4 separate regions of the Homo sapiens genome follow, and regions 1, 2 and 4 are each linked to region 3. The links are contacts of gene promoters, found by promoter capture Hi-C in blood cells and fetal thymus (Javierre and others, 2016). All regions are on one chromosome and are shown on one strand. The core of a region is centred on a gene start or on the middle of the fragment in contact, and the rest is flanking DNA. Distances in the headings are between cores, read along the strand shown. Region 1 holds the start of GCNA (germ cell nuclear acidic peptidase). Region 2 has its middle 38 kb from the start of SNX12. Region 3 holds the start of ITGB1BP2 (integrin subunit beta 1 binding protein 2). Region 4 has its middle 67 kb from the start of SLC7A3.

Region 1 (5,465 bases), core at 1,868-4,367, 280 kb before region 3:
ATTTTCTTATGTACTTAGGTCTATTTCCAGACTTTCTGTTGGTTTGTACCTTCCCCCATATCATACCCTTGCATGCATATCTGTGAGGGAGGAAAATAGGGTAGTGTTCCAGAAGAGAAAAAACTTAGAGACAGGCAGCTATCTTAAAAATAGCTCCTGATCACATCACTGCACTCCAACCCGGGCGACAGAGCAGACCCTGTCTCTCACACGCACAAAAAAAATACCTCATGTTGGAAGTTCTCTGAACCTTTATTGGTTCAGGGCGCATCTCCATAAAAAAATTTAAAACAAAAACACCTTGTGTTATCATGGAGAAGAAAAATACTTGTGTACCTCTAGAGGCAGCACTATCGATACTGGCGTGGAACAACAGGTTTTAATTGCATCAGAATGAAGAACTTTCTAGAAACCACATATATTCAACGATGCACTGTTGCCTCAAATGTCGTCATTTCCTGGCCACTAACAAAGAAATTATATAGCGGATTCAAGAATTTCATAGGAGGCTGGACTCCTAGTTTGTAAAATCCTTCTTTACAATTCTCATTTTATAACAAACCAAGTTATACGCTCTACAGATACTAAAGGAAATAAACATACTTCTCGAGAAAGCTGTTTTGCCAATACGGTAACACTAAACTAAAAGAAAACAGAACTTTCTAAATCTCACCAATCCTCGTCCTCCTCCGGCTCTTGCAAGCGGGGCAGCTCTTTTTTGCACCCATCCATGTCTGTAGTGAAAGACAAAGATACACTTTCTTAAGAAAGCCAGAACTCGGCCGGGCGCAGTGGCTCACGCCTATAATCCCAGCACTTTGGGAGGCCGAGGCGGGCAGATCACAATGTCATGAGATCGAGACCATCCTGGCTAACACGGTGAAACCCTATCTCTATTAAAAATACAAAAAATTAGCCAGGCGTGGTGGCGGGCGCCTGTAGTCCCAGCTACTCGAGAGGCTGAGGCAGGAAAATGGCGTGAACCCGGGAGGCAGAGCTTGCAGTGAGCCGAGATTGTGCCACTGCACTCCAGCCTGGGCCACAGAGCTAGACTCCATCTCAAAAAAGAAAAAGAAAAAGAAAATAAAATAAAAAGAAAAAAAAAAGAAAGCCAGAACTCAAAAGCAGAGACATCTCTACATTTACATTCTGCATTTATCTTTGGGTATCTTCCCCACCTTAAAGCCGAAACTTTGCTCTGCAAAATGAAAAGGATTTAAATTTGTTTTGTTGCAAACTTTTCCCACTCAGGCCTCTACCACCCCAATCTCTTCCCACCCTGCACCCGCCCCCACTTCCCACTCCCTCCACTCCCACCTCAACTTGCCAGTCTTCCACGTATCAGGGCTCGACCGCCCCCACATCCCACTGGCCCTCCACCTCCCTACAACCTTCAGTCCCCCTACTCCTGCCCCAAGGAAGTCTCCCACCTACCGGGTGTCAACCTCTCCCCCTTCCCCTACCTCTTTACTCCCCACTCTGTCAATCTTACCCAGAATAGGCTACCACCGCCCCCTCATCACCTTCTTCCTTCTGTCCAACCTCCACTGCCCCCTTACCTCCCGCCACTCTGGCTTCTCACTGGTCTTATATGAATCCGGCCACCCCCTCCACGCTTCCTATTCCTGCCTCCAGCCTCTAGCCAATCTTCGACCAAACAGGCCTTGACCCCTCCCCAACTCCTTCCTCCTATCAGGTCTGGACCCTACCCCCACCATTCTCACCTCAGTCTTCCACCAATCAGGCCTCAACCCCACCACCCTTCCCCCACACTCGCACCTCCAACCACCTCCAGCCACCTTCAACTGCTCCCAACCGGTTTTCCAAGCAGGCTTCCACTCCCCCACACTTCTATCCAACTTCTGCCCTACCCCACTCCTGTCTCCCACCACCACTCAGTCCTCAGCCAAAGAGACCTCAACCCCCACACACACACCCCTACCCACAACCACTAGCTCCCACCTCCCCCCAATGCTGCAACGGGCACCCCCACTTCTCCCCACAGCCACTGGCACCCCCACCTCCAATGCCACCACCAGCATCCTCACTTCTCCCCACGCCCACCAGCACCACCACGTGCTCCTAGGCCACTTCCACCACCACCAAGTGTTCCTACGCCGCCACCAGAACCCCCCACTTCCCTCAACGCCCCCATTGGCACCCCCACCTTCAATGCGGCCACCGGCGCCTCCACTTCTCCCCACACCGCCAGCGCTACTATGTGCTCCTATGCCACCAACGCCACCAAGTACTCCTAGGCCGCAACTGGCACCCCCACCTCCCCCCACGCTGCCACTGGCATCCCTACTTCTCCCCACCCGCCACTAGGGACACCACCTGTTCCTACACCACCACTGGGGCCCCCACCTCCCCCCAGTGCCGCAACCAGCGCCCTCACTTCTCCCCGCGCCGCCACCGGCGCCACGTATTCCTACATAGCCACTGGCGCCACCACACGCTCCTACGCCACCACCAGCGCTCCCACTTCCCCCAAGGCCGCCAATGGTGCCCCTACTTCTCCCCACACCGTCACTGGTGCTACCACATGCTCCTACACCACCACCAGCACCCCCACTTCCCCGACACTGCCACAGGCACCCCCACTTCCCCCAACGCCGCCACTGGTGCCCCTACTTCTCTCCACCCGCCACTGGCACCAACACCTCCTTCTACGCCACCACCAGGCCCCCCACTATCTGCAATGACGCCACCAGCGCCCCTTCTCCCCACGCCGCCACTGGCACTACCAGCTGCTCCTACGCCGCCACCGGCGCCCCCACCCCTCCCAATGCCGCCACTGGCGCCACCATATGTTTCCTACACCACCATGGGCGCCCCCACCTCCCCCAATGCTACCACTGGCGCCTCCACTTCTCCCCTCGCTGCCACTTCCTCTACTCCCACCTCAGGCCTACACGGGCAACCAGAGTCCAAGGTATACAGTGGTCCTGATTTTAATTAAGTCACTCAATTAGGATTAACCTCTGGACCACTTCAGCACCCATCTCAGTCCGACCAGCCGGTCACCTACCTGGTGTTGCAGCCTCTGGCGTGGCCGGCAGCAGCTCACCTCCAACTGCCCGTGGAGTGTGTGCAAAGATCCGGAGCAACTGCGATGAACAACGCCAGGCGCAGGCCCCTTTATAGTGCCCGGACCTAGGGGGCGGTAGCAGTAATTCACGTGTGCTCGCCCGCGCTCCCCTGTACCCACCTATCACAGTGGTCACAAGACAAATTTGAACTTCGCGCCTGTGAACTTGGCGCCTAGCTGTAACGCTTCCGGGATCAGGTCTGTCGCTTTCCACTCCCACGGATGTTGCTTATTTGTCCCAAAACCGCCATTTCAATACTAGAGCGTGGGCACCCGAGGCCAATTCTGCGATTAAAAGTCCCTAACAACTTTCTGATAAAGAGAAACCATGTGAAATCGTTCATAACAAACTTTTATCCTGCGAGAACTTGGATAAGCGAGCCTTGTTCCTTACTTGAATTGTCCAGACCTCTAAGTCCGTTATTGCAACCACTGGGAAAGGGCGCGGGGGGAGGGGCGGGGGCACGAGAACTGGAGCGAAGGCGCGGGAGCAGGGGCGTGGACGGGAACACCGAGGGGAGGGCGGGGCGCGGGGGGACGCGGGAGCGCAGGGGGGCGGGGGTTGCAGGGAAGGCCATCTAGACCCCTAGATAAGAGCAAGGCAGCAACTCAACAGCGCCTGGCAACGGCGAACTATGATGTTTACTTCCAGAACCCTCCAAACCCTGGAGATAAAAAAAGGTTACTTGAGGCTTTTTGGCACTCACTCCATACACACCAAGAAAAACAAACGGGGAAAACAGCGCTTTCTAGATTGTGCCAGTTTCTCCAGCGAGCATCTATATATTTCGTAATGTATGCCTTTGGGTAACAGAACACACATAAAATGTCCCTGCGTTTGATACTATTTTGTGCTAAGCATTATTCCAAGTGTCTTACGACTTAATTCATACAACACTTTAAAAAGTAGGCAACTGTTAGCACTCTCATTTTAGAGATCACACAGCTAGAAAGTGGCAGAGCTGGCCGGGCACAGTGGCTCACGCCTGTAACCCCAGCACTTTGGGAGGCTGAGGCGGGTGGATCACGAAGTCAGGAGCTTGAGACCAGCCTGGTCAACATGGTGAAACCCCGTCTCTACTAAAGATAAAAAAAAAAAAATAGCCGCGTGTGGTGGCCCGCGCCTGTAATCCCAGCTACTCGGGAGGCTGAGGCAGGAGAATCGCTGGAACCTGGGAGGCGGAGGTTGCAGTGAGCCGAGATCGTGCCATTGCACTCCAGCATGGGGACAGGGCGAGACTCCATCTCAAAAAAAAAAAAAAAAGTGGCAGAGCTGAGATTCAAACTCCAACTCTAGTTCCAAAACCTGCTCTTAAGCACCAGATTGCCTACCTAAATACAGATACTTTCTCAGTTGATAAAAAAATTGGATAAAGGGGGCTGATTACTCTCTCTCTCTACAATGAAGTTGCAAATTAACCTCTACAAGCCTCTTTATAAGAATGGGGATTACATAACTGTGCCTCAGAGGCTTGGGCAAAGAACCAGGATGTTAGCTATAATTGAGAGGCATATGCTTCAAGTAAAAGAATGGGATAGGTTTGGAATCAAATCTTAAAATGGGCAGTTCAGAAATTACACACATTTACTCAAGGTGTGCAAGCAACTCCTTTAGATTGAAGGCAGGAGGAGCTGAAGTAGACTGGAAATAATGTAGATTTTTCAAGAGAAGCGAATGGGAGTAAAAACTTTTGAGTAGGCTTTCTTCCCATAATAATCTTTTAGGAAACAAACACCAATCCACATGAGGGCTTTAAGAAGTTGGGAATTAAATCATGCAAAATTTTACTGAAAAAAATCTTCCCTCTCATATCTGAGAAAACTGGCAAACAGCATTTGCCATGATATCAATTCATGATATCAATCATGAATTGATATCTTCCTCCCTGATGCTTGTGGCAGAGTTCGACCACTATACAGAGCAGGAAGGAAAATAATTTTGCCCCCAAGAGCCAAGAAAAGAATGGTCCACATGAAAACCGAGACTACAAGGGTAAATGAAAGCAGAGAGGTCACAAGCAAAAGAGGAGCAAGCATGAATGGGTGTGTTGGGGATCACAGGCTTTGTCTTTTTTTTTTTTTGAGATGACATCTCACTCTGTTGTCCAGGCTGGAATGCAATGGCACGATCTCAGCTCACTGCAACCTCTGCCTCCCGGGTTCAAGCGATTCTCCTGTCTCAGCCTCGCATGTAGTTGGGATTACAAGCGTGTGCCACCACTCCCGGCTAGTTTTTTTGTATTTTTAGTAGAGACAGGGTTTCACCATGTTAGCCAGGCTGGTCTTGAACTCCTGACCTCAAGTGATCCACCTGCCTCCGCCTCCCAAAGTGCTGGGGTTACAGGCGTGAGCCACCACACAAGGCCACTTTGCC
Region 2 (5,861 bases), core at 3,100-5,599, 270 kb after region 3:
ATGCAATGATTTGTAAAAGTTTTTTGTATGTTAGGGAAATATATATGTGTGTAACTAGAGAAGTAGGTAGTATTGCCTTTACAACATAAAGAGATTAAGGCTGAGAAAAGCTAAATGACTTGGTTCAAGATCATACAAATAATAAATGATAGAGCAAGGATTTGAATCCTGGTCTATGTGACACAAAATACCATGTTATTTCTATTACAGAAAGCCTATTTTTAATCTGTTAGTAGCTTTTCTAAGTCTTAAAAATTATTTAATATTATTGTCTCCTTTGCTAAAAGCCTTAGTTTTAGAATTTATCTCTTGCTGATGGCCTTGTTAGAACTTTAGAGAACATTTAGTATAGTTTTCTGTCTTTTTTAATCATTCAAAGCTTTTAAAAACTTCAAAATTATTTCAAACTTAAAGAAAAGTTACAGTAATATTACAAAGAACTTCCACTTACCCTTAACCCAGATTCATATATTTTTAACATGTTGCCACATTTGCTTTATCATTCTATCTCTATCTTTATCTATTTTTTCTCTGAATCAGAATAACCTGGAGACATAAGGCCCCTATACTCCTAAATACTTCAGCATATCTTTCCTGAGAACAGGGACATCCTCTTACAAAACCACAGCATAATGATCAAAATCAGGAAAATTAACATTGATGTAATACCACTGCTGTCCACATTCAGCTTTTACCTCTTGTCCTAATAATTTCCTTTATAGCATTTTTCCCCAGTCCAGAATACAGTCCAGGATTATACATTGAATTTAGTTGTCATGTCACTTTAATTGCCTTTAATTTGGAGTAGTTTCTCAGCTTTTCTTTGTCTTTCCTGACATTGACACTTTTGAAGAGTACAGGCCAGATATTTTGTATAATGTTCCTTAGTTTGGGTTTGTCTAATGTTTCCTCATGATTAGATTCAGATTATGCTTCTTTTTGTAGGAATATCACAGAAGTGATGTGTTCTCAGTGCATTGGCAACAGGAGGTACATGATATCACTTTGCCCCATTATTGGTGATATTAACTTTGACTACTTGGTTAAAGTAGGGTCTGCCAGGTTTCTCCACTCTAAAGTTACCATTTTTACCTTTGTAATAAATATGCAATTTGTGGGGGGACACTTTGAGACTGTATAAAATGTCCTATTCCATATCAAAGTCTCAGCCAATAGATTTTAACATTCATTGATTATTGCCTGAATCAGTTATTACTATTATATTTCAAAAATGGTGATTTTCTAAATACATCATTAGTTCTACACTTATTTGCTGGCATTCAATTGTAAAGAAGAGCTTTCCTTTTACCCTATGTATTGATTAATTAATTGATTATCAGTATGGACTCATGGATTCTTACTTATTACATGAGTTATAACGTTTTACTGTTTATTTTGATGCTCTAATTGGCCCAGATTTGGTCAGTGGGAGCTTCTTCAAGCTGGTTTCTGTGTCCATTGACATGCCTCCATCATTCTTTGGCACTTTCTTACTTTCTGGGACAACAGGAATATTTCAGGCTTATCATGTATTTTCCTGGCCCTAACCTTGGAATCAGCTATTTCTCCAAGGAAGCCTGGCTCCCTTAAGTGGGGAATGATATTTAGCAACCAGGATCTCTGTGCTGGGGTATACTTATTGCTACTGAGGTGTCATCACTTTGGGGCTCCTTTAGCTGAGAGACCTAGGATTTATCCCAGGCTTTTGAATCCCTTCCAATATCTCCACCAAGTGAGTTTAGATCTGTGCTTGAATACTTCATTATTTGAGGAAATTGCTCGAGAGACAGTCTCCTTCATTATTGGGCAACCCTTTATATTTGAAAACAGTGGCCATTGGTTTCCTCTACTAAGTCTTGTCTTCTCTGTGCTAAACATCTGCAGTTCCTTTACTGCCATTACTCTCATGGCAGAGTTTGAAGATCTCCTCATCATTCTGGTTATTCTGTTCTGTTCATACTTCAGCTCATGAATATCTCTCTTTAAAGATTGGCATCTAGAATGAAATGTACTATTTCAGGTACATGTTCTGATCAGTACAGAAGAGTGGGTTAGTGATTTTCTTTGTTCTAGACCCTATGCTACTACTCATGCAGGCCAAAATTGTTAGCTTTTTTTTCTTTTCTTTTCTTGTTTTTTTTTTTTTTGACAGCCACATTGATCACTCTGTTGAATTATGTTGAGCCTATAGTTAGTTGAAATCACTAAGACTAAAAACTCAACTATATTTATCCATTTGGTACTTAAATGCTTATGTTTTAGGACCTAGTATGAGGCTTTAATTTGATCTCTGTCTTTTCAGCCTAAGAAATTTAGCTTATCATTCCTGCTTGTCAAACTTCTTTTGACTCCTGAATGTCATCCAGTTGTACTAGCTTCTTTTCCAGTTTATCATCTGCAAATTTGATTAGTATGCCACTAAGTGTCTTCATACAAATGACTATCTTAAAATATCAAAAAAGGCAGAGCGGAGCTCAAATATTTGCAGCCTGACTAGACACCTTTCCTATGTTGAAATCAATCCATCAAATAAGGGATTGCTACTGTTCATCTACTTTCACCTGCTGTTGTATATAGGATCTGACCCAACAGACCTGTCACAATACTACCTTGAACCAATTTCTAGTGTTTTCCTGGGATTAGTGTTTCAAAGTTATAGGGAAGCTTGTTTATTGTAAAATGGGGACCTTTCACACAGTCCAAACGTGCTATTCTTGAGTGGAGATCGTCCTGGTGTGGCTTGGTCTGTGTCCTCCTTGGTGCCAGAGGCAAAGAGAAATGTTTGAGGCAGCCAAGGCTATTCTACCTTAATCAGAATCTTCATCAAATGTAAGGAACAGAGGTTATCTAGTTCAGACTTCTAAAATCTTACTGATAAAACCTATTAATGTGTCCGTTTCTTTTAATGCTCTATCTGTCAACAAGTGCTCCTGCACATTATTTAAAAAGGAGGAAAGGTGCCTTATAGAAAGGGGCTCTCAGAATTTGCAAGTAAGGATGGGAAAAGGTCACTGTCTGAAAATGAAGTAAAATGAAACAAAATGGATAAAAACAGCTATCTGAAGGCATACATCTGCAGAATTAATCTACCCTGAGAGAGCTAGGTTTTCTTTTAATGAGACTGGAATGTTTTTTAGGTTTCCATCAAAGACCAGAGTATATGGCCTCAGGAAAAAGAGAATGAAATGTAATAATGTAAAGAAATCCTAACTTACTCAACTGCCTTATAAATTGGCCATCTGAAATAGTGATCTATGAATAGAAGGGTAAAGCCTGGTTATCTGCAAGGAGCCTGGAAAGGGGAAGAATAACATTTTATTTCTTTAGCCTTTTCGGTTTTTTTTTTCCGGTTGTTGTTTAATTACATAGGTAACATGTGAGTACATTCTCCTTATAAAAATATTTAAACATTACAGCTAAGAGTAAGTTTCTTCTCACTAAACTTCTTGTCCCCAATTCTGGTTAGTCAGGCTTTTTATAAAAATATCTTGAGTCAAGAAAGATAGTTTATCAGGCTTATATAATCTGATGTTAATATATCCTTTGTGGATATAAACTCCGTTTGTTTTATTTATTTTTGTTTGTTTTCTGTTTTTTTTAAAAAACATTTTTTCCCTTTTTAAAAAAAAATGTGCTCACAAATCAACCTTTTAATATATAGACTGGTCTGCTGAATTTGTCTGCCTGCCTCACTGGAGTAACTACCTTGTACAAAGATATTGCCTACCTAGGAGGTTGTTCTTGTATAGTCAGCAACTAAGCCTCCTGATCTCAAACAGCTCTCTGACTTCTGTATGTACAGTGGGGGATACAGGATTCAAAGACTTTTTTTTTCTTTTTTTCTTTTTGTTGAGACAGGGTCTCACTCTGTCACCCAGGCTGGAGTGCTGTGGCACAATCTTGGCTCACTGCAACCTCCACTTCCCAGGCTCAAGTGATCCTCCCACCTCAGCCTCCCGAATAGCTGGGACCACAGGTGAGCACCACCATACCTGCCTGATTTTTTTCTATTTTTTATAGAGATGGGATTTTACCACGTTGCTCACGCTGCTCTCGAATTCCTGGACTCAAGCAATCCACCTGCCTCGGCCTCCTAAAGTGCTGGGACTGAAGGCGTGAGCCACTGTGCCCAGCCTAAAGACATTTTAAAAAAGCTCCATGAGGAGCTTTCATTTTACTGGGAAGACTAGACATGCATGTGAGGCATTTTTTGAAGGGGATGATACCATATATTCATATTATAATATAAGACAGTATATATAGCAAAGGGTTAATTGGACAGCATAAATGGGTGCTATACAAATTCATATCCTCTTTCAGTTCCTGTCATCTCTCTTTCTTCCCCTTCATTCACCTTATTTTTCCTCACCTCCCACTCTTCAATTCACTGTGATCTGGTTTCTCTTCTGCCACTGGTGTGAAGTTACTTGAGGTAAAAGATATGGGGCTCCAGGGTCACATGTTATACTTTGCTTTTTTTTTTTTTTGAGACAGGGTCTCGCTCTGTCACCCAGGCTGGAGTGCAGTGGCGTGATTCTCGTGCCTCAGCCTCCTGAGTAGCTGGAATTACAGGCGCGTGCCACCATACCTGGCTAATTTTTGTATTTTTAGTAGAGATGGGGTTTCACCACATTGGCCAGTCTAGTCTCAAACTTCTGACCTCAAGTGATCTGCCTGCCTTGGCCTCCCAAAGTGCTGGGATTACAGGCATGAGCTACTGTGCCTGCCCGCTTTGCTGTTTTTGACTAGGCTCATCTTATCCATTCTCTTGGCTTCAGCTGCTTATTATACACTGACTTCACACAAATGTATGTTCAATCCAGACCTCTTTTCTGAGCTTCAGACCCCGGGTAGCCATCTGCCTATTTTCATGCTCCATAGTCATCGCAAATTCACTATTTCCCATACTAAGCTACTTCCTTCCCCACCCTCTCAGCCTAAGCCCACTCCTCCTCTTGTGTTTCTTATGTCAGTGAATGGCACTATCAACCCAGTTCCCCAAGTCTAAAACCTTCACACCATCCTCTCTCTATTTTACCACCAAATCCTTTCAGGTTTATTTGCTAAATATTCACTGGATCCATATACTTCACCTTTTTTCCTAATGCCACTACCCTGGTCCAGGTCACTGTCATCTCAAACTTTATTGCAACTGTCTCCTAATTCATCTACTTGCCCCCACTCTTATTTTACCCTCAAATCATGTCCCACACTATAGCCAGAGAATATATTCTAAAACAAAAACCCTTCAGTGACTTCCCAGTCCCCTTAAGAGAAAATTCAAAATTCTTTAAGTGACTTACAAGGCCCTACATCTGGCTCCTGCATCAGCTTCATTTATCACCACTCCTCATCTCACACTCTGTACCTCAGCAATTCTAAATTCCATTTTCAATGATCGGTATATGCCATGCTCTCTTTCTCTTGAATCCAAGCCCTCATACATGCTACCCCAATGTCTGGTTGGTCCACTTTTAGTGATACTATGGCTGAGCAGTGTGTACAGATTGTGGACAGCTTAATCTTTCTATTTTAAAAGTCCTTATTGCCTTTCTCATCTACCCTCATTGTTAGAAAGGCATCCTCATTGTCTTAGCATCCACTGATGATCATTATCTGAATTATTAGTTTCATAAGGGTATTCCAAATGGTGATTTTCCTAGTTCTGTCATTCCTTCTACACTATTTTTTTTTTGAGTCAGGGTCTTGCTCCGTCATCCAAGCTGGAGTGCAGTGGCACGATCATGGCTCATTGTAACTTGGAACTCCTGGGCTCAAGCGACCCTCCTGCTTCAGCCTCCCAAAGTGCTGGTATTAGAGGTGTGAGCCACCTCGCCCAGCTTCTTCTACAACTATTAACT
Region 3 (5,527 bases), core at 3,028-5,527:
GAAAAGGTAGGGACAAATGTTCATGACCTTGGATTAGGTAATGGTTTCTTAGATATGACATCAAAAGCATAAGCAACCAAAGAAAAAAATAAACTGTATTTCAAATTAGCTGGGCATGGTGGCAAGCGCCTGTAGTTTTAGCTACTCGGCAGGAGAATCGCTTGAACCCAGGAGGCAGAGGATGCAGTGAGCCGAGATCGCACCACTGCACTCCAGCCTGGGCGACAAAGCAAGACTCCGTCTAAAAAAAAAAAAAAAAAAAAAAAAAGGACTTCTTCCACCACGGAGTCTTCCCTTTTGCTACTGTCCACATTAACTTTTCCATTCTTTCAACTACAGCTCTTAAAAACTGTACTGCACAATTTGGCACTCAGTTAAACTACCTGATAATGTTTATTATTATTTCATGTAGATTGGTCTTGACTTGTCAGCCAGGTTGTTACTTTGTTGAGAGAAATGAGTAAGTCTTCTGTTTCTCAGATATTTCTAAACCACCTAACACATAACTGGGCACATAGGGAGTACTCAGTAAATACCTGGTGTTTATGAGGAATAGATTGAATGTGCATGTGCTTGTTTTCACAATGTGTGTTGAACACACAGTTGGGGGTAATAAATACAATCTTAGATAGTGAGGTGAGAGAATGACACTATGTGAAACTGAAGAATACAAGATTTATTTAAGGGAAAAAAACAGCATGGTTTGGACAATTTTGTTCTCCCCTCCTTCAGCCTCCTGCTGCTCAATGATGCCACATGGCCAACAATATCCTGGTATCTAAGATTCTAAGGGAATCATTGAGGTCCTATCTAGACATCAACTGTCTGGTGTCACTATTCCCCCATTGCTTCCTCCTCTTCCTCCTCCTCTGTCCAGCTCAGATCATCATCTGAATCGTCAGATTCTTCCTCATCCATCTCTAACACAACCCCTGCCCTAGCCTTCTTAGCTAGTGCATCAGGGTGCTCCAGCTGGGCCCAGGATCCTGGGTCAGCCTTGACCAGGGAGATTTCAACCCGAGATGGCATCAAGAAGACAGAGCTCTGCTCCACGTTTATGACCTGAGGAGGAGCAAAGGAAAACAGAAGAAAGAGAGAATGAGGAAATCAAAGGCATTGGGGTCAGGGTGGAGTGGTGACAAATGAGAGAGAGAAATTTTTAATAAGGTAAGAAAAAAGGTAAGGGAGGAATAAGACAATAAGGGAGAGAGAGGAAAGAAATGAGAGATGAAAAGGGAGAAGGAAGAGGGGAGGGAAAGAGGGAAATAGGAAGAGTAGGAGAGAGAGAGAAAATGAAAGCAAATGAAGAGAAAACCTCCATTTTCCTAGTACAACTCCTTCCCTCAAGACACCCTCTATTCCAGTCTAGCCGCTCTTTCACCCATCTGCCTCCCACTCTTGTGTCCCCTGGTCTTCACTTACCCCCCAGAGCTTCATCTGTGCTTGGAACACACGGTTACCATCAAAGACAATGTGGACATGAAGCTGAGAGAAAAGAATTACAGGGGTAGTAACAAACCCAGAAGGTCAGAATAGGTCATTACGACAGATAACCAGGTCAGAGGTATGATCCACAGGTTGGCCAGACAGCCCTGACCTAATAACTCTCCTTTCCTCTAAGGGTACTATGGAGCCTACAGGTTAACAGCAAATGGCAACTCTGCCTGTGAGATTGTAGTATCACCCAATTGACTATCCTCCCATCCAACATCAGATCATTGCTCACCTCAGTTTGACTGGCCTTCACCCAGTTAAACGCAGGAAGTGGAATCTGGCCATATACAGTCACCACTACTAAGGAATCTGTCTGGTGCCAATCATGGCGGCAAGATGCTGGGAGCTAAAGAGAAGATGTGAAATGCAGGTGGTAAGAATAAATTCTTAACTGAAGGGGAGTTCTCATGATGCACGTGGAGAAGAGACAGAGAGTCTCAAAAAGATTAACACAACCTCATATTGCAAAACCTCTGGGCTGTTGAGGGATAAGGAGCAGAATCTTATTTGGTCTATACTAAAGGGAGAAGACAGGGAGCTTGGCTATGTGGTACAGAGAGGGAGGAGAATTTACCTCTGAGATTGGGTTCTAATCAAGAGTTCAGGAAAGCTGGGGCTTACCTGCTTCCCCCAGTCATGTCTACCGACTCTGCACCCTGGTTGTGCCAAGAATGCCCCAAAATCCAGGGTCTGGATGCCACAACAGCTCCAAGACTTCATCCTGAAGTAGGAAGATAATTCAACTGAATTCTCTCACCCCCAATATTATCTTATGACCAAATATTAGGAGAAACCTGTCTCATAGCCTCATAGCCCACCCAGTCCCCTCCCTCACCCCTCATGGAATCGGGGTGCTCCTGGGTGGTAGGTACATGGAGTAGCATCACTCTCAGGGCCTTGGTAAACCTAAGAAGGATAAAGTAGAACCAGGTCATTCTAAGGTATATCCTACTCAGCCTATCTATACCCAGTCATCCCTCAGCCATATGCTTGAGCCCCTCAAAACTCTCACTCACAGCATCACATCCTGGGTTCTGGCAGCTGGAACCAGTCCGGATCAGACTGTCAAGTCCTGGGCAAGGGAAACAGAGTCAGGAACTTATCCATCCCCCCACTCAATTGCCACTTCCACTAAATTCCAGTCTATGAAGTTGATCCTACTAAAGACCCACCTACCTGCCCCAGGTTCCTGGTCTAATTCCTTCTGTTCCAATGCCATTTCCAGGGCTTGGGATATATTTAGCGGCAGCAGCTTCAGAGGCAACTCTGACCTAGGGGTTAAGGGTGGTGATTTAGTTCTGACCCATTAGCTATGATTGCTAGCTCCAACACTCCCACCGATGGTAATGGAATTAAAGAAGCCTGGTGAAAGTGAGGCAGAGTTGGAGAGGTTGGGTAGCAACCCCATTGCCAATTTTCATCTCTGTGGACATCCCAAATACCTGAACCCTAGAGAAATCCCCAGCACTTCTCTTACCCATCTACTCAGTTGCTCTAAACCTAACCACTTTTCTCTGCAGAACTGAGTCATATCCTCTTCCTCTTTATCTAATCGTGGACCTAATATGACTTCCTTCTGTTGCTCTTATTATTCCCACAAAATTTGGGAAGTCTCCTGGCTGCCAATAATACAATACATCCTTTTCTTGATATGAGATTTATCTTAAAGTTCTTTTCTAGAAAGAGAAGTCATTCTCAACAATCCCTTTTGTGTTATACACTAAGGATGTATTTGTGAGGGGCTATCTACTCTGTTGATTCAGGTATCTATCCCATCATCCCACACCACCTTAGAGGAAAGGGCGTTATTTCCAGACACAAATTTCCCCTAAGGCACAGGATATACACCATCCAAACCCTGACATCTGGCCCTCCTCACATCCCTGGTCCCTAGTTCCCAGTCCTCAATGACCCATTAATCACTCCTAGGAAGCTACATGAAAATAAGAAAAGTCCAGGGGCCTCCTCCTCTTTACTTGGGCCTCTCCCGGCGCAAGGTCTCTGCTGACTTTGGAATCACATTCAGAGGTTTTTGCTCCTGAAGTGAACTGCTTGTAGCAGGGCCTTCAGGTTGAGGGGCCTCAGGAAGCTTCTCAGCACAGTGTGGTCCCATAGTACAGCCCTAGTATAGATAAGGAGATAGGATTAGGGATAGAATCCTTCTATTGGGGGCAGAATCCAAGTACATAAATAATTTACCTTGATGTTTAAGAACTCAGAGAAATCTACAGTTCGCTTTCGGCAGCAGGACCAACCCTGATAACAAGAGACCCAGATCAGCTTAGCTTCCTGGGTATTATCTCTTCTGGGAAATGCTCTTGCTAACCCCCCTCACCTACTCCTCACCTTAAGTGCATCATGGAAGATTGGGACCCCAGGGTGATGGCAACAGGAATCTGTGGACATCAGTAGAAGTTATCAAGGAAGGGAAGATAACTATACCAAGTATCATTTTTCACCTCTTCCCCGGGTTTCTATTTATGGTTTCTTCCCATATAATGTGAAGAAAAAAAAAAAAGCCAGCAAAGGCTGTAAGATCACTCAGACCAATTAAACTAGGGCAGGTAGTTTCTTTCCCCGCTCCTCAAACACACTGCCCCCCAGCTGACCAGTCCCCAACACCCACACAGAGCCCCTGGCCAGGTCAGGATTCTTTACTCACCAGGAAGGTTGGTATTAGGGTCAAAGTGCTGCCCACAGCCTTTGTTACGACAGAGTAGAGACATGGAAGCGTTGGTTGAATGATTACTGAAAGGGTATTTCAAGGAGTCTGGCTGCCGAATGGGGAACACCTCTTAGTCTGGAGGCTTTTAGCTGCCTGGAAGGGCCAGCTGTTTCTATCTTTAGTTCAGGAGGCGTACACCTCCTAACATGGGCAAGGGAACTTCAATTCGTCTTTCCAGCCAATAGGAAAGAGCTCGGGGGCATTTTAGCTCTGAGGCTCAGGAAAAAAGGATCAGGCAGAGTAGGGCTTTGAACTTGGGTGAGGTCAGCTCACCACTACTGAGACAGTTTTAGATTCACCACAGCAATTCCAAGCCTTGGACACAGCAGCAGCTGCTAAGAAACAAATACCAATTTTGAGACCCCCCCCGCGCCCCCAGCTCGATGAGGATTAAGCCCATTTTCTTCCTCTTTCAGAGGGGCAGCTTTCCTCCATCATTACTTCCATGTAGTATCAATAGCGCTAATCCTTGCCAACCCCTCCAGCCATTTGATGCACCTCATCCCCACCTCCTCCCCATGTTTGTCTAGATCAATACTGTAATCCAAAGGTCATAAAGGATTACCTTTATAGAGTCTACTGCTCATCTCCTAAGATAACTCCCCTCCCTCCTTTCCCCTTCAAAAACACCACAGAAAATTAAAAGGCTTAAAATGTATTTTAATAGGTTGATGCTGCATTACTGCTCCATTTTTCAGAAAAACTCCAAATATATGAGACAAATCAAACACAGTACACCAATGAAAAAAAAAATGCACAGCATGACTACCTAAGATAGGCGAGTCTAAGAGCTACTGTCAGACCTTCAGTATACAGTAACCCTGTTCCCAAGATTGTACTAGGCCTATCAAGAAAAGCTGTGAACAGCAACATCATAGACACAAAAGGGTCATTCCTGGGTGTCCTCACCCAAGAAAAAGATGGAGGCAAGTTAACACAAGATTTTTTTTTAAAGATACACTAAAATGAAAATCTCTAAGAGAAAATGTCTTCTTTAGGACATGAAGGGGTAATATATGGGGTATAACAGAACCGTATGTACGCTGCCTGTGACCTTTGTGGACGTTTGCCTGAATTCTCACCTGGGAGTGAATGGAGCAATGGGGCTAAGGTCATTGGGGGATGTTTGGTTTTTGTGGTGTATGTGGCAGTTTCTCTGGGGCTGGGGGAGTGTAAGGATAAGAAGCAAGTGAGGTTGGGCACGGTGGCTCACCCCTGTAATCCCAGCATTTTGGGAGGCCGAGGTGGGTAGATCACGAGGTCAGGAGTTCAAGATCAACCTGGACAAGCTTGAACCCGGGAGGCAGA
Region 4 (5,625 bases), core at 50-2,549, 300 kb after region 3:
TTCGAAAGTAGTGTGGAAGTTGAACAGGTGTAGAATGGAGAGAGATTGGTGGCAGGACTACTTAGCAGACGTAATAGTCCAAGCTGGACATTATGAGAGTCTGAACCAAGATCGAGGCAGTATGGGGGAAAGGCTAGGCTTGACAGAATGATATTTATGAGTTAAAATCAACAGGACTGTATGCTGATTGATTAGATGTGCAGCGTTAGGGAGAAGGGATAATTAAGGCAAAAGCAAAAGCTTCTAGCTTAGGAACATGGCTTGCGATTGTGAATGAGAATGTAATTCAAGAATTTAGTAAATTGTGGCAGTAGAGAAGGTAAGTCTGATTTTAGACTAGTGGAGCTTAGGGTACCTCTTTGTAACCTGTAGGTAAAGATGCTTAATTGTAATTTGGAAATACAAATCTAGAGCTTAAGCAAGAGTTCGAGGCTATTATTAAAAATTTCCATGGATGAAATTGGAAATCATCATTCTCAGTAAACTATCGCAAGGACAAAAAACCAAACACTGCATGTTCTCACTCATAGATGGGAATTGAACAATGAGAACACATGGACACAGGAAGGGGAACATCACACTCTGGGGACTGTTGTGGGGTCGGGGGAGAGGGGAGGGATAGCATTAGGAGATATACCTAATGTTAAATGACGAGTTAATGGGTGCAGCACACCAGCATGGCACATGTATACATATGTAACTAACCTGCACATTGTGCACATGTACCCTAAAACTTAAAGTATATATATAAAAAAAAAAAAGAATAAAGCAACTTAGATTTAACTGTAAAAAAAATTTTGCAATCTGTCATTGTATAGATGATAGTTGAAGCTGTGTAAGTAGATAAACTTTGTTCCAGGTGGTGTAAGAAGATAAGAGACTAGGACATAACCCTAGGGAATCCCAATGAATAAGTGTTGAACAGAAGAGGGAAGTCTGAAAGGGAAAGGTAAGAAAAAAAAATGAAGAGACAGTAGTGTCATTTCTTCCCATTTCACTCCTTTCTTCCCAGAGGCCAAGAAGAACTTCTGGGAAATAAGAGCAACCAATCGCCTTAGGCTGTATAAATATGGGCCAATAAGTTCAGCAACTAGGAAGCTTTCCTTTAAAGTTTGTTGGAGTCACGGCAGAAGGCAGACTGCAGCAAATTGAACAAATGGACAGGGCGAAAGGACAGTGGTTGTAGATTAATTGTTCCAGAAATCTGGCTATGAAAGGAAGGAGGTAGAAAGGATGGTAGTTTGTAACGAGATAGGGGAGAAATAGTGTTTTAACTTTGTTTTAGAATGGGGAAACGTTAAGCCTGTCTGTAGGTATATAAGAAAATGTGGAAAATAGAAGAGAAAGGGGATATTTGATGGAATCAGAGTCTAGAGAGACAATCTTCCTTGTAGATTCTTTTGGTGACCACCACTTGTAAGTTGATTTAGGATGTTCAGAGTGTGGAACAAAGCCAGAGAAGAATCGAGAGGGAGTGAGACACAAAAGAACAAAGCTTGGAGTCCTGTTCATTACTTCCTTTTATGTTCTAGAGAATGCTTATCATAGAGAACAATCAGTCTTTCTCTGGGTCTCCATTTACCCTGTTACTTTGCCCTAGAAGATGTTATTCATTTCCCTGACTGAAACAGATGGTAGAAAATGCAACTCAGCTTACTTACTGTTAAAACAAACCATCTTTTTGGACTTTTATTATTTGGAATTTTCTTATAATAGTTATATTTATTTTAGAAATTTTAGATAATACAGATAAAAAATAAAAGAAAACTGGCAGCCCTACTCCCCAGGAATAATCAATATTAACATTTTGGTATATATTCTTTCAGTCTTTTTTCCCTTATCTGTAATAGGAGGAAAATATGCAAATAGCCAACCCCCATGGAACCACTTCCATAAGGCTTCTGTCAGATTCCAAATGTTCCCAAGGCTTCTATAGTACTTATGTAACAAGCCACACAGTGGATTGATTACTGTTAATGTATGTCCTCTGGGAGTTGCCAAGGAGGCTCACACTTTCAATTACTGTACATCCCAGATTTGAAAGCATATCCCTAACTATTTGTCTTAAGGATTTTAATTTTTTTCTTTCTTGCTACTGGATATAAGTGTCTAACAATTCTCACTGGGAATTGATTAGTGAGTAGGTATTGTCAGGTAACATGATTAATGCTGTAATAAGTATATAGGAAACTAAGAACTCAGAAAAAGAATTACTCATTGAAATTTTAATAATAACTGTCATTTAAGAGATGAGATTAACTATGTGGAGAAGTGGTTTACAACTGTGTTGCTAATGAAAACATAGGAAATAACCAAGTTAATCAAAGTGCAACTTTAGAACTGGGTGGTAACTTAAAAAAGCATTTCTGCCCTCCCTCAGCTGCAGGCATCTCGGCACAGAGACAGAGAGAGAGAGAGAGAGAGAGAGAGAAGAGAGAGAGAGAGAGAGACTCTGTTTGTTTGGGTAAAAGTAAGGGCAGAGAAAAAAAGTTTCTGTCTGGTAATCCAGAGAATTCTTTCGGATCTGATCCAAGACCACCAAGGCAGTACCTCAATGAGTCTGCAAGAGCCACAGTGTTACTGAGCTTGGGGTGCCCCCTAACGTAGATGTGACTACAGTGACCAAAAACTTAGATCACAACACCCAAAGTCCCTTCGAATACCTGGAAAGTTTCCCAAGAAGGACGGGTATGAACAAGCCCAGACTACAAAGACTACTAAACACCTAACATTTCAATACTTAGACACTGACGAACATGCACAAGCACGAAGACCATTTAGGAAAACATGATCTTCCCAAATGAACTAAATAAGGCACCAAGGACCAAGCCTGGAGAGACAGAGATATGTGATCTTTCGGACAGAGAATTTGAAATAGCTGTTTTGAAGAAACTCAAGAAAATTCAAGATAACACAGATAAGGAATTCAGAATCCTATCAGATAAATTTAACACAGAGATTTAAATAATTAAAAAGTATCAAGCAGAAATTCTGGTGTTAAAAAATGTAATTGACACACTGAAGAATGAATCAGAGTTTCTTAATTGCAGAATTGATCAAGCAGAAGAAAGAATTAATGAGCTTGAAGACAGGCCATTTGAAAATACATGGCCAGGCATAGTAGCTTATGTCTGTAATCCCAGCACTTCGGGAGGCTGAAGCAGGAGGATCACTTGAGCCCAGGAGTTTAAGACCAGCCTGGGCAACATAACAAGGCATCATTTCTATAAAAAATTTTTTTTTAATTAGCTGGGTATGGTGGCATGTGTGCCTGTAGTCTTAGCTACTCAGGAGGCTGAGGCAGGAGGATCACTTGAATCTAGGAGTTCAAGGCTGCAATGAGCTATGATTGTGCCACTGCACGACAGCCTGGGTGAAAGAGCAAGACCTTGGAAAAAAAAACCCACAGTCAGAGGAGACCAAAGAAAAAATAATAAAAAAGAATGAAGCACTCTTACAAGATCTAGAAAATAGCCTCAAAAGGGCAAGTCTAAGAGTTATTGGCCATAAAGAGATGGGAGAGAGAGATAGGGGTGGAAAGTTTATTTAAAGGGACAATAACAGAGAACTTCCCAAACCTAGAGAAAGTTATCAATACTTGAATTCAAGAGAGTTATAGAACAGCAAGTAGATTGAACTGAAATAAGACTATGATTTAATAATCAAACTTCCGAAGGTCAAGAATAAGAAAGGATCCAGGCTGGGCACAGTGGCTCATGCCTGTAATCCCAACACTCTGGGAGGCCAAGGTGGGTGGGTCACTTGAGGCCAGGAGTTCGAGACCAGCCTGGCTAACATGGTGAAACCCTGTCTCTACTAAAAATTAAAAAAAATATTAGCCAGGCATGGTGCCCTCCCCCTGCAGTCCCAGCTATTCAGGAGGCTGAAGCATGAGAATTGCTAGAACCTGGGAGGTGGAGGTTGCAGTGAGCTGAGACTGTGCCACTGCACTCCCTCTGTCTGGGTGACAGAGGGAGCCTCTGCCTCAAAAAATAATAATAATAAAATAAAAATAAAAGATACCAAAAGCAGCAAGAGAAAAGAAAGAAAAAAAAACATACAATGGAGCTCCAATATATCCAGCAGCAGACTTTTCAGTGGAAACCTTACAGGCCAGGAGAGAGTGGCGTGACATATTTAAAGTGCTGAAGGAAAAAACTTTTACCCTAAAATAGTACATCTGGCAAAAATATCCTTCAAACATGAAGGAGAAATAAAGACTTTTCCAGACAAACAAAAGCTGAGGGATTTCATCAAAACCAGACTTATCTTACAAGAAATGCTAAAGGGAGTTCTTCAGTCTGAAAGAAAAGGATACTAATGAGGAATAAGAAATCATCTGAAGGTATAATACAAAACTCACGGGTAACAGTAAGTACACAGAAAAACACAAAATATTATAACATTGTAATTGCAATGCATAAATACTCATATCTTGAGTAGAAAGACTAAAAGATGAACCGATCAAAAATAATAACTATGACAACTTTTCAAGACATAAACAGTACAATAAAATATAAATAGAAACAACAAAAAGTTATAAGGCTGGAGGATGAGGTTAAAGTGTAGAGTTTTTATTAGTTTTCTCTTTGCTTGTTTGTTAGTTACCTTGTTTGTTCATGCAATTAGTGTTAAGTTGTCATCAGTTTAATAATAACATTGAATGTAAATGGACTCAACTCTCCAATCAAAAGACACAGAGTGGCTGAATGGATAAAAAAAAAGCAAGACCCAATGATCTGTTGCCTACAAGAAGCACACTTCCCCTATAAAGACACACATAGACTGAAAATAAAGGGATGGAAAAAGATATTCCATGCCAATGGAAATAAAAAAGGAGAAGGAGTAGCTGTACTTCTGTCAGACAAAATAGATTTCAAGACAAAAACTATAAAGAGACAAAGAAGGTCATTATATAATATAAATATAAATATATATAAAGAGACAAAGAAGGTCATTATATATAAAGAGACAAAGAAGGTCATTATATAATGATAAATTCAGCAAGAGGATATAACAATTTTAAATACATATGCATCCAACACCAGAGCACCCTGATATACAAAAGGAATATTATTAGAGCTAAAGAAAGAGACAGAACCTAATACAATAATAGCTGTAGACTTCAACACCTCACTTTTAGCATTGGACAGATCATCTGGACAGAAAACCAACAAAGAAACATTGGACTTAATCTGCACTATAGATTAAGATCTGCAAACTGATCTAAAAGATATTTACAGAACATTTCATCCAATGGCTGCAGAATACACATCTTCTCATCAGCAAATGGATCATCCTCAAGGATAGACTATATGTTAGGCCACAAAACAAGTCTTAAAACATTAAAAAAAAATTATGTCAAGTACATTCTCTGACCACAGTGGAATAAAACTAGAAATCAATAACAAGAGGAATTTTGGAAACTATACAAACACATGGAAATTAAACACCATGCACTTAAATGACAAGTAGGCCAATAAAAAAAATGAGAAGAAAACTGAAAAATTTCTTGAAACAAATGATAATGGAAGCACAACATACCCAAACCTATGGGACGCAGTGAAAGCAGTACTAAGAGGGAAGTTTATAGCTATAAGCACCTACGTCAAAAAAGTATTAGGT

Evidence for each region. The method cuts DNA at HindIII sites, captures the fragments that hold promoters and counts their contacts. A CHiCAGO score of 5 or more calls a contact.
Region 1: the fragment with the promoter of GCNA here is called in contact with the fragment with the promoter of ITGB1BP2 in region 3 in 3 of 17 cell types (activated CD4 T cells, erythroblasts and naive B cells); the score reaches 7.9 in activated CD4 T cells.
Region 2: a contact is called between a fragment that was not itself captured here and the fragment with the promoter of ITGB1BP2 in region 3, in 3 of 17 cell types (naive B cells, total CD8 T cells and naive CD4 T cells). The highest score is 6.5, in naive B cells.
Region 4: a fragment that was not itself captured here is called in contact with the fragment with the promoter of ITGB1BP2 in region 3 in 3 of 17 cell types (naive B cells, total B cells and naive CD4 T cells); the score reaches 6.2 in naive B cells.

What each region holds. Positions count from the first base shown.
Region 1 is chrX:71,576,089-71,581,553 of GRCh38, reverse strand. GCNA (germ cell nuclear acidic peptidase) reads right to left here and starts at 3,117. Exons shown (of 13, transcript NM_052957.5): 1 at 3,032-3,117; 2 at 674-734. The coding sequence starts at 732. RefSeq lists an enhancer at 2,269-2,910. The HindIII fragment of the contact is 6,206 bases long and covers 1-5,465 here.
Region 2 is chrX:71,027,424-71,033,284 of GRCh38, reverse strand. No RefSeq gene overlaps it. Among named protein-coding and RNA genes, the nearest start is that of SNX12, 38 kb to the left of the region's middle. The HindIII fragment of the contact is 3,365 bases long and covers 2,667-5,861 here.
Region 3 is chrX:71,300,500-71,306,026 of GRCh38, reverse strand. It overlaps ITGB1BP2 (integrin subunit beta 1 binding protein 2), which reads right to left and starts at 4,277. Exons shown (of 11, transcript NM_012278.4): 1 at 4,157-4,277; 2 at 3,841-3,890; 3 at 3,694-3,750; 4 at 3,471-3,616; 5 at 2,671-2,765; 6 at 2,511-2,566; 7 at 2,330-2,400; 8 at 2,116-2,215; 9 at 1,727-1,840; 10 at 1,423-1,485; 11 at 656-1,062. The coding sequence starts at 4,220. The coding sequence ends at 835. It overlaps NONO (non-POU domain containing octamer binding), which reads right to left. Exons shown (of 12, transcript NM_007363.5): 12 at 4,859-5,527. RefSeq lists an enhancer at 1,280-2,479. The HindIII fragment of the contact is 1,925 bases long and covers 3,586-5,510 here.
Region 4 is chrX:70,995,630-71,001,254 of GRCh38, reverse strand. No RefSeq gene overlaps it. Among named protein-coding and RNA genes, the nearest start is that of SLC7A3, 67 kb to the right of the region's middle. The HindIII fragment of the contact is 397 bases long and covers 1,101-1,497 here.